4 separate regions of the Homo sapiens genome follow, and regions 2, 3 and 4 are each linked to region 1. Evidence: promoter capture Hi-C in 16 types of primary human blood cells and fetal thymus (Javierre and others, 2016). All regions are on one chromosome and are shown on one strand. Each heading gives the region's core, a stretch centred on a gene start or on the middle of the fragment in contact. The rest is flanking DNA. Distances are from core to core; before and after follow the strand shown. Region 1 holds the start of SP9 (Sp9 transcription factor). Region 2 overlaps OLA1 (Obg like ATPase 1). Region 3 overlaps OLA1 (Obg like ATPase 1). Region 4 overlaps OLA1 (Obg like ATPase 1).

Evidence for each region. The method cuts DNA at HindIII sites, captures the fragments that hold promoters and counts their contacts. A CHiCAGO score of 5 or more calls a contact.
Region 2: a fragment that was not itself captured here is called in contact with the fragment with the promoter of SP9 in region 1 in 1 of 17 cell types (M2 macrophages); the score reaches 6.5 in M2 macrophages.
Region 3: a fragment that was not itself captured here is called in contact with the fragment with the promoter of SP9 in region 1 in 1 of 17 cell types (M2 macrophages); the score reaches 6.1 in M2 macrophages.
Region 4: a fragment that was not itself captured here is called in contact with the fragment with the promoter of SP9 in region 1 in 1 of 17 cell types (M2 macrophages); the score reaches 5.2 in M2 macrophages.

The regions. Positions count from the first base shown.
Region 1 is chr2:174,333,600-174,336,501 of GRCh38, reverse strand. SP9 (Sp9 transcription factor) reads right to left here and starts at 1,548. Exons shown (of 2, transcript NM_001145250.2): 1 at 1,389-1,548; 2 at 1-395. The coding sequence starts at 1,409. It overlaps LOC102724194 (a long non-coding RNA gene), which reads left to right and starts at 1,526. Exons shown (of 3, transcript XR_427194.5): 1 at 1,526-2,762; 2 at 2,877-2,902. The HindIII fragment of the contact is 13,141 bases long and covers 1-2,902 here.
Region 2 is chr2:174,175,342-174,178,041 of GRCh38, reverse strand. The region is part of intron 4 of OLA1 (Obg like ATPase 1); the gene reads left to right. Among named protein-coding and RNA genes, the nearest start is that of OLA1, 72 kb to the left of the region's middle. The HindIII fragment of the contact is 3,940 bases long and covers 1-2,700 here.
Region 3 is chr2:174,129,179-174,131,971 of GRCh38, reverse strand. All of the region lies in intron 5 of OLA1 (Obg like ATPase 1), which reads left to right. Among named protein-coding and RNA genes, the nearest start is that of LINC01960, 110 kb to the right of the region's middle. The HindIII fragment of the contact is 756 bases long and covers 1,100-1,855 here.
Region 4 is chr2:174,112,240-174,114,939 of GRCh38, reverse strand. The region is part of intron 7 of OLA1 (Obg like ATPase 1); the gene reads left to right. Among named protein-coding and RNA genes, the nearest start is that of LINC01960, 88 kb to the right of the region's middle. The HindIII fragment of the contact is 2,394 bases long and covers 177-2,570 here.

The DNA.
Region 1 (2,902 bases), core at 299-2,798:
GTGTGCACCTTGGAAATGAAGGCCGACTGGCCACCCGCCTCCTGCGGGGACACCCCGGCCGCTGCCGCCGCGGCAGCCGCCGAGTTGGAGAAGAGGCCGCCGTAGTCGCTGCTGAAGGCGGACGACGTGGGCGACGTGGAGGCCAGGCAGAAGGCGCTGTTGGCGGCGCCCGAGCCGCCCGCCAGGCCGCCCGAGCCACGGCCCCCGGTGGCCACCGCGAAGCCCGAGAGGCTGGAGCCGAGGTTGCAGCTGGACGAGGAGCGCTTCCAGGGGTGAAAGCCGCCTTTGGCGAAGGCGCTCGACTCTGGCAGCGTCGTCAGCGGGCTCGTGTTGCCGATCTTGTTGCAGGTCGCCGCCAGCATGGCCAACGGGGTCGTTCCGAAGCGCGGCTCTTCCTAGAGTGGGTGGGATGGGGGAGGGAGCAAGAAGGAGGAGGGCAAGAGGAAGTGGGGGAAGAAACAAAGTGCACCCGTGAGCAGCCTCGTCCCCTGCGGCTGCTCCCGGGGGGTCCTGGCTCCCCGCCTCGCGCCTCCTCCCCACGCGCCCGCGGAGGAGTCGCCGCACCGGGCGCGGAGCAGGGGCGATCACCCGGGCGAAGGTCCAGGCGCCGGAAAGTTGCACTTCGCTGAGGCTATAAATCAAAGATGCCTCCGTGTTCCCCGCTGCAACCCTGCCTACAACCGGACTTGGGTTGTCGCCGTAAACCGGCTCATCTCCCAGAAGACCCCAAGTCGCCCTTCGGGGTGAAGCGCGAAGGTAAACACAGAGACCAGAGACAACAAACACCGGGTGAGGGCGGAGGCGGCCGAAACAGCTGCCAGGGACGGGCGAAACTTGCAGCTCTCCCAGGGTGGCTACGACTTGACTTTTCTTTTTTAATAGAAAACGTTTGGTTTTAAAGTTTACATACACACAAAAACAGCGATTATGAAAACAATAATCCGAGGATAAGCGGCCAGAGACAGATTTCAAAGTCATGGGCGAATTGGGGAGCCGCGGAAATGTAAATGTTTATTAGCGTGACTAGATGGACTGCAAAACGATTAAGACTGTTTTCTGGAAACACCATTGTCGCATAATTGCAACAAAATCCCCAAAGCAATGCGGGGGATGGGGTATAAATCACGAGGGGAAGAAAAGAAACCTCTAGCTTTTTTTTGAAACCAAATGAAAAAGGACTTGATTAAGAAGGCCTTTTCTTGCAAAGGCATCTTTCTGGGTTCCAAAAACTTGGGGAAAAATCAGTCCCAGAAATGTGGAAAGTGCTAATAGAAGCTGAAGCTGCAGTCTAGCAGCAACAGTTTCTCCGGAGCCGCAGACCCCAGAAGCCATAACGAAAAATTACTCCGGTTAAAACAAGCAAATGCGTTGCCGCGCTTGCGACTTACCCCGAGTATAGACGTGGCCATAGCAGGTCTCTGGCTGCGCAGCGAGGCTGGGAGCGGGGCTGAGCCTGGCGGCTGCTCGGAAAAACTGCTTGGGTCCCGCGCGGCTCCCGCGTCCCCGCGCTCGTGCCGAGCGGACTCCAGGCTCCCGCCGGCTAAACTCAGCCTAAGTGCGAGGAGCACCCGCTTTGAAGTGCCGCTGGCTGCGCCTCTCGCCCAATGAGGGCGCAGGCAGAGCAGACCGGAGCTGCCCCGCAGCCAATCAGACGCTCCGAGGGGCCCGAGCCCGGGCTCCCGGCGCGTGCCAGTCAAGTCAGCTAGCTAGGGCCGCGGGGGTGGGGGGGAGTAGTGGGGGATACTTGCGGGGGGGGGGCGAGGGCGGGCTGGGGACTGAAGAAATTACAGTGCAATTAAAAATTTACACTCACGCACCAAGCCAGGTTTAAGTACCAATGAAACCGAGCCACAAGCACCCCCCCACACACAAACCACCCCGAGATGTTGCAAGTTAGGGCTGACAGTCCTACTCGACTCCCCACTTGTAGGAAAGGAGGCAGGAGGGGAGGAGACACCCAGACACAGCCCGCACCAGCAGGGCCCAAGTGGAGACGGAAATGTGAGCCCTCACTTTGTGTGTCCAGGCTTTTGCCTACAGAACACAACTTCAGCTTGTATCTATCATTCTTGCTTGTGATTTTTATCATTTTCGTGTGTCTTCTACCCAATTCCTTATTCCACTAGATTCAATTTCACTCTCACAGTTATACTGGGGAGGGGGCGCGAAGGGACAGCTCCTCCGAGAGGAGCGAAATAGGCCTCTCTGTACAGATCTACATCCACAGATTTGTTGGGAGGGCCTGGAGCCTGCTGCATCCCGCCATTTCCCCCCAGCGGTGTAAGTGACTTCCTAATTGTCGCTCTGGCCTCTGACCCGGGGGGTAATACAAGTGCCACTCACGCTAGAGGCTTCTGGTGGTAATTGAGGGCACCCTTTGTACGGTTTCGCCAGCGCTTAGATACCAGGTTAACCCAGTTGTCAAATATGACTAAACAGTGGGATGTGCTGATTATCTGCCGGGTTTTGCTGTGGGCTGGCATGGGGGTGGGAGGCATCAGCCCATACAACACGCTGCACGAAGCCGCTTATTTTCTCACTGTAACAACTTTGGAAACAGAGACCGGCGCGAGCGGCGTCCGCCCCCACCTCCACCTCCGCTGAAGCTGCAGCTTGCTCGGCTGTTTGTTTAACCCGGTGAAGATTTGCATGTCGCGTTTCATCCTGGAGTGGAGTTTTCTTGTCCCAGCTCCAACCCACTCCCATTCCAGACCACCAGGGCCTAGAGGCTCGTCCGTAGGGCAAGTGCGCTGTTTTAAGAGGTAGGCTCCCCATTAGTGCCCTGCTTTCACGGACGCGCCCGAGAAATCTCTCCAGGACTTTCACCCGGGAGGGCGGAGGACCAGGCCACACGTGGGCGCTTCCACATTTTGCAGGCTGGAAGCATCCTGAAGTCCTCCCT
Region 2 (2,700 bases), core at 68-2,567, 160 kb after region 1:
AAAAATAGGGCTAGTATATTTTGAAATCACTAGAGAATTAGTTGAATTGGGGAAAAGTCAACAACTTTTTGTAAATTAAGTTTTTTTTGAGATCTATTCTTTCCTTTTAATTGATATTAATTTCCTGAGGAGTTGATATTAATTTTCTGATTAATCATTTTAGGTTGTATCTGAAAAAAATTTAAGAAATCCAAATGTATTTGATTTTATTAAGCTGGCTGACTTTGTCAAAAGTCTGGAAAAACTTTAAGAAATCCAGATGTACTTGATTTTATTAAGCTGGCTGACTTTGTCAAAAGTCTGAAAAAAATTTAAGAAATCCAAATGTACTTGATTTTATTAAGCTAGCTGACTTTGTCAAAAGTCCATTGCTATTTGCTTAAGGTTTCTAGCTTTTGCAGCAGTGAATAATAGTGCTCTTAAATTGGATTTATGCTAACTTTTAAGAAACATATTTGTTCCAAGCAGTCTAAGAAGTGCAGAGATGCATGTCAATATTCAGAATTCATATTTTCCTTGAACAGAAGGTTGTGATAAAATGGCACATGGTATGTTTTCATTGCCTGTTGAAAGACTTTCATGCAGTTAAAATAAGCATTTTGATGGTGGTTGAATTAAGAGTTTTTGTCAGTCTCTTCTCATCATGGATGATTAGACTAAAACGTCTGCTTGTCTTGACTTGAGATCACCACAGCTTCAGATAACATGCTTTGTGATTGAAGGTCGAAATATTTTGAATTCTAATAGGCTGCCAGATGAATTGCTTGAAATAGACTGTAAAATTTCAAGGCTTCCTTTTCCATCTGCTGTGAAAAGAACCATTGGGAATGGTTGAGCTTGATGATCATAGAATTACTGGATGGTGATTCTAAAACCCTCAAAGGGAAGTTGCTATGGAGATCTAGTTCCAAACTGTGAAATGATTCACCTTTGAAAGGCTGCAGGGTCTGAGAAGCTGAACACATCATTGTTCAGGTGGTCATTGGTTAGGAAATTGCTGGTGCCTGTGTAATCAGCACTCCTGTGGTAGTTAACGATCTAAAAAGGTTTGTTCTGAATGATGTGGGACAACAGCAATGTGCATAAGATGGCTTCTCTCAATCATGGTTTGCTCAGTCTGGTGCTTGTAAAAATACAGCAAACTAAATAGCACAGAAATGAATTGCTTTATTGAGGGAATCTTTTGAAAACAAAATTTTGAATTGATGAGTTTAGCATCTAAAATAAAATGGTTCTTTTTGAAAATAAAGTTTTCGCAGAAACATGCATTGTTTACTTTATTTTAATTCATCCCCATACCTCCCACTTTTTTGTGGTAAAGAGCTCTTTGTCTCTCTAGGTGTAAGACCTTACCACGGTGAAATGTTTAGCTTTTAATATCCTAGAGTACTATTTCAAGAGCCTTCTTGCATAAGCACAGGGGCACCTGAGAAGGAGTTTAGAAAAGCCCCTGGTCATTGAGAATGAGTCTAGGAAAATCCCCAAATCATTAGAAGTAGAAAGTAATTAATCCCCTATAGCAAATTGGTTCCCCTCAAATTGTTTTTTATTATGCATATTTGTGACATGTATTTTAAATTGATATTTTTTCCAATTTTTGTTTTTATTAAATCAACTTTTGTTTTTATTTCCAGAAACCTGAGGCCAAAATAATTTTTGAAATTCATTTAACAGCAAATTATTATAAACTGCTATTCTCCCATATTAAGATTTCAGAATAGGTAAAATTCAATCTTAGTTAATTTCATATCAGCCTATAATGTTGAACTTTAGTAATCAAGTATGAAACCTTATCAAAGATAATGTATGTATATCAAGTTTGTCTGTATGGTGTCTTCTCCAGACATCATTAAGGTAAAATATACATGTAACAAAAATCATATATTCTTAGTGTACAGTTTGATGAAGTTTATTGTACACAGTCGTAGATCTACTGTCACAGTCAAAATACACAATGTTTCAATCATCCTAAAATGTTTATTTGTGTCCTTTTGCAGTTGATCCTCTCCCCTAACCCTTATGCTTAAGTACTCACTGATCTGCTTTCTATTGTTGCATTTTTATCATATTTAGAATTTCATGTAGTATCATATAGTATGTAGTTTTTTCTGTTTGACTTTTTTTAGATCTAGCATAATGTTTTTGATATTCATTCATATTGTGTACGTTAATACTTTCTTATTACTATGTAGCCTTTAATATTATCACTTTGCTTATCCATTCATTAACTGGTGGACATTTGAATTGTTTCCAGTTTTTATTGTTACGAATTATTTGTGTAGAAATGTTTGTATGGATATATGTTTCTATTTCTTTTGGGTAAATATCTAGAAATGGGATAGCTGAAGTGTATGGTAACTGTATGTTTAGCTTTATAAAATACTGCCATACTGTTTTCCAAAGTGACTGTAACATTTTGATTTCACACCAGCAATATGAGTTCCAGTTCCTCCACATCCTTTCTAGCACTTGATATTGTCAATTGTTTCTAGTTTAGGCATTATAGAGAATATTGTGGCTTTCATTTCTATTTTCCAGCCTATTAGTGATGACCATCTTTTCATTTGCTTACTTCCAAACTGTATATCTTCTTTGGTGAAGTATCTGTCTAAATCTTTTGTCCATTTTTAATTGGATTGTTTGTCTTATTTTGATCCAGTATCAAAGAACTGGATACAAGTTCTTTGTCAAGTATATGTT
Region 3 (2,793 bases), core at 228-2,727, 200 kb after region 1:
ACATGTAAAGTCTCAATCACACTCTTCCATACAGTAGAAAAAGAGGAAAAACTTGTGTGAGGTCAGAATAGTCCTGATACCAAAATCTTACAATGTAAGAGAGAAAAATTATAGGTGAATCTCTTTCATGAACATAAAAGGCCATTCCTCAGAGAAAGAAGATATTTGCAGCATCTAACAAAGAATTCCTACAAATAAATAAGAAAAAGACAGCCTGATAGAAAAATATGCAGAGACTTCACAAGTACTTCACAAAAGAAGAAATTCCTCATTAATCACCACAGAAATGCAAATTCAGACTACGGTGAGATACCATACACTTGCCATAAATTAATAAGACTGACAATACCAAGTGTTGGGAAGAATGTGAAGCAAATGAAATTGTCATACAGTGCTGATGGGAGTATAAATTAGTACATCTGCTTTTGAAAATTTATTAGCAATATGTATGAAGTTTGGATAAATACCTGACCTACAACCAAGCAATTCCAGTCTTAGGTATATACTCAAGAGAAATGCATGCACAAATTTACCAAAATATATGTACAAGAATGTTTATAGCAACTTTATTCCTAATAGCCTTAAAGTGTAAACAGCCTAGATGTCCATTAACAGTAGAATGTATAAATTGTGCACTATTCCTACAGTGAAATATTATACCACAGAGAAAAACACAATACTGCTACATGGAATGACATGGATGAATTCACAAATAATATTGAGCAGAAGAAGCCAGACGCAAAGTAATATATATTGTGTGATTATTTCTATAAGTTTCAATAACAGGCTAATTTGTGATGCAAAGAAGCCAGAAGTAGTGATTATCTCTGAAGAGGAGTGGAACATTGTAACTGTACTACTAATAATCTTCTATATGTTGATCAGGGTGGTAATTACAGACGTGTTCATTCTCTGGTAGTTCATTTGGGCACTTAGATATGTTATACTGAATGTATTTATTTTCCTACTTTGATTTTGGTTTCATTAAAAATATTTGTACTTTTATCAACTCTCTAGATATATCTCATCCATTTTTTTCTAACCTCACTGTTCTCTTTTTGTGACCTCGAGTGCATTGTTGGCTGTCTTTGTTAAAGCTTCCTAACCAGCATAAGTCAGTTCATCTGCTCCTATTGTGTAGATGCTCTTATCTTTTTGCATTCTACTAAGTATGACAAATAATTCATTGAGGTTTTTTTGTTTCTCAGTCATTTTTAAAGATGTGTTTTTTCTATGACTCTACTTTCCATAAATTATCAGTATTCCTTTTATTAAAATCAGATTTGTTGGCTTCCCCACAACTTCCAGACCCTTCCTCAAACATGGTAAAATGCATTCAAACTTATTTTCAGGAATCATAGGGACAGTTGCCTTCTTCTCTTTACTAATAGCCAGATCCTTTGCTGAGATCTATGCCTCAGAAGTAAATTGGTGTCCATTTTGGTTGCCACTTTATTGCAGACAGGGGCCAGGAACATTATATTCTGGGGGTGGTCTTACTATCTACTTCAGTGAATCATATAACTGAAAGCCTACAATTGGCAGCATGTATTCTACCAAGGTTATTGCTAGAATTAGCCTATTGTGTTAATTCTTGGGGGGTTCCCCTCACCCCCATACACGCATAGTCATGTAGAGCATTACTGCTAGTTCCATTCATTATTGCCCAATCCTTTTCTGGGAGTTTCAGTCATTCAGGTATATAGAAAGATGTTGTCCAGGGATCAGTACTCCTGCCTCCATAAATAGCAGCATTTATCTAGTAGAGCAACAAATGCTTAATACTGTGATTCAGAGAGATCCCAAACATCATTAGTAGAATACACAGTGGAGGTCTATTTTATAAGAGAAAGCTTAGTTTGATTTTTTTTCTTCAATTTCGGGTGTTTAAAGGGAATAGTTGGAGGATGCTGTATTAGTGGACTTCTAGCGACTGTTTTGAACCGGAAGCCTTGCCCTAATTCTTGTAGTCTGAGTGCATTGTTGGCTGTCTTTGTTAAAGCTACCTAACCAGCATAAGTCAGTTCATCTGGATATCAGCATTAGAATTGTGGTGACAGGTTTTCCTGAAGGTAAGTATAACTTGGAAGTTATAATTATTACAGAATAAGAGTGAGTCACCCTGATAAACCACCAAGTCTATCCATTTAGCCATCAAATTTTAGGATTACAGATGGTGGACAGAGAATAGATGAAGTTTCCCCTCTCCCCTTACCCTGTGAATATACCTTTATTTTTTTCCTATTATAACAGTGATATTTGTTGGTTAAAATTTTTTAAAATGTTGTAGTTTTAAAAAGAAGGCAGAAAGGGAAAAGCTGTCTGGCATCTAACCTTCTAGAGATTTCTATTGCTAATTATTTAGTGTGTTATCTAACCAGTTTCATTATTTGAGTATGTCTATTTATATATATTATATATAGTTTCAAAACCATAAATGGAATCACATTATGCATTCTGCCATAAATATTATTTATTTATTTATTTATTTATTTATTTATTTATTTATTTATTGAGACGGAGTCTCGCTGTGTTGCCCAGGCTGGAGTGCAGTGGCACCATCTTGGCTCACTGCAAGCTCCGCCTCCCGGGTTCACACCATTCTCCTGCCTCAGCCTCCCGAGTAGCTGGGACTACAGGCACCTGCCACCACACCTGGCTAATTTTTTGTATTTTTAGTAGAGACGGGGTTTCACTGTGTTAGCCAGGATGGTATCGATCTCCTGACCTCGTGATCCGCCTGCCTCGGCCTCCCAAAGTGCTGGGATTACAGGCGTGAGCCACTGCGCCCAG
Region 4 (2,700 bases), core at 124-2,623, 220 kb after region 1:
CAGGCTGGTCTAGAACTCCTTGGCTCAAGCGATCCACGTGCCTTGGCCTCTCAAAGTGCTGAGATTACAGGTGTGAACCACTATACCTGGCCAAAATGAAGCATTTGCATCATTGGAATAAGAGTTCTGCATATTAGTTTAGGAATGGGTTACTCCAACAGAGAGAGAAATAAGCTTTGTCTTTTCATTAGCAAAGATTTAGCAGTGCCTTTTCAGTACTTTAAATATTTGTCATTGAAATCAAGGGGTAGTCATCAGTATTCCTGGGTGATAATCAGCATTTTCCTTAGAGATTCTTTTAAAAGAATGTATTATGGGGCTGTGGGAAATGTTGTTGGATTTAATCCATTTTGAAATTTAAAAGGAAAAGATCAAATAGCATCTGTTCATTGGTAATCATTTTTAGCCTTTTTAAATGAAATTTTAAAAGATTTTTCCCCAGGAACGTATATGGATGTCCAACATGAAGGTCACTAGCAGTTTTCAAACATGACTTTTAAGTTTTGTCATTTTTCTTTTGTATGTCCTGCTTCCCCGCTTCCTCCATTTAATATAATTGATTTAGCTTTTTTTTTTTTTTTTTTTTTTTTTTTTTTTTGAGGCGGAGTCTTGCTCTGTCGCCCAGGCTGGAGTGCAGTGGCGCGATCTCTGCCCACTGCAAGCTCCTCCTCCCGGGTTCACGCCATTCTCCTGTCTCAGCCTTCCGAGTAGCTGGGACTACAGGCGCCCGCCACCAGGCTGGCTAATTTTTTTTTTTTTTTTTTTTTGTATTTTTAGTAGAGACAGGGTTTCACCGTGTTAGCCAGGATGGTCTTGATCTCCTGACCTCGTGATCCGCCCGTCTCAGCCTCCCAAAGTGCTGGGATTACAGGCATGAGCCACCGCGCCCGGCCGATTTAGCTTTTCTTATACCAAACTAAAAGACATACATAGCAAACCATTATTTATTGTTGAGTTCCTGCTATGTGATGGGCATTCTGAGCTTGGAAATTGCTGAGATGTATGATATTATACTTATCAAGCAGATATTATCATGCCCATTTTACAGATAGGGCAGGCGGTTGGAAAGATTATAAAACATGCCCAAGTTCTTGGAGCAGGTAAGTGGTAGAAATAGATCCATTTGACCTGAATGCGACTGTTCCACACAGGATGACTGACAGCTAAGCGACAGTACAAGATATGTTTGTGAATCTCCAGAAATCTTTGAAAATATCACGTCAGCAACTTTAGCATTTTGCTTTGTTTTATCTCAGAAAGTTTAATCTCCATCCAATTGTTTAGTTAATAAACTAAATTAGGATTTTAGTTAAAAAGAACAATTCTCAAGACAACATTTGTGGGTTTTTTTTTAGGATAATAAGCATTTGCTGCTGCTGTTTTTGCCTTGTCTCGTAATTTTATTAACTATTTAATAACATTGTTAAGAGGCAACAGCAATATATTTTAGGACCCACCTTAGCTTGCATTTTTACGCAATATCATGTATAAAAATTTTGGTGGAGAAAATACAATGGCTCTTATTGAAACCGAAATTAAAAATTATATGAAATTGCCAAGTCTAAAATAGTGGTACAGAATAAACCCCCCAAAAACATACCTGTAACCACAGATTGGTTTTTATATATTGATATGATAAACAGGATTTAACTTTTTCTGTTATAGCAAACCATAATTTGTTAAAAATAATTATTTGACTGGGCACAGTGGCTTAAGCCTGTAATCCCAGCACTTTGGGAGGTTGAGAAGGGTGGATCACCTGAGGTCAGGAGTTTGAGATCAACCTGACCGACATGGTGAAACCCCATCTCTACTTAAAAAATACAAAAAAATTAGCTGGGCTTGGTGGCGGGCACCTGTAATCCCAGCTACTCGGGAGGCTGAGGCAGGAGAATCGCTTGAGCCTGGGAGATGGAGGTTGCAGTGAGTCAAGATCATGCCATTGCACTCCAGCCTGGGCAACAAGAGTGAATCTCCATCTCAAAAATAGTAATAATAATAATTCTTCAGTGATGGGGTGAGGGAGTTGATGTTATAGAAATAGGGAAATGAGAGAATATCACGTGTTAGTTTGTTTTCTGCTGCTGTAACAGATACCACAGACTAGGTAATTTATAAAGAAGAGAAATTTATTTGGTTCATGGTTCTGGAGCCCAGGAAGCCTGAGAGTATGTCACTGGCATCTTCTGAGGGTCATCCCATGGCAGAAGAGCAGAAGGCAGAAACAAGTGGGAGACAGAGAGCAAAGTGGGTCAAACTCATTCTCTGTATCAGGAGTCCACTCCTGAAATAACTAACCTACTCCCATGATTACAGCATTAATTGCTTCATAAGGGGTGAGCCCTCATGACCTAGCCACCTCTTAAAGGTCCCACTTCCCAATCCCATTGCACTGGGGGCTTAGGATTCCTAACACACGAACCTTGGGGGGCACATTCAAACCACAGCACTATGAGGTAGAGCAATGGCAGATAATTTGTATGCCTAATGTTGTATTTGTAGTAGTCGTCATTCAGTCAACACTTCACACTTGACCTTATGCCAGTTATATTTAAGATTCCCAACAAGCTTGTAAAGTAGGTGCCATTATTACCCACATTTTAAGGAAATGAAAAGCAAGTATGGAGAGATTAAGGAACTTGGCCAAAGTTACATAACCAGTCAGTGGTGCCGACATCCAATTGTAAGCAGTTCATCTGC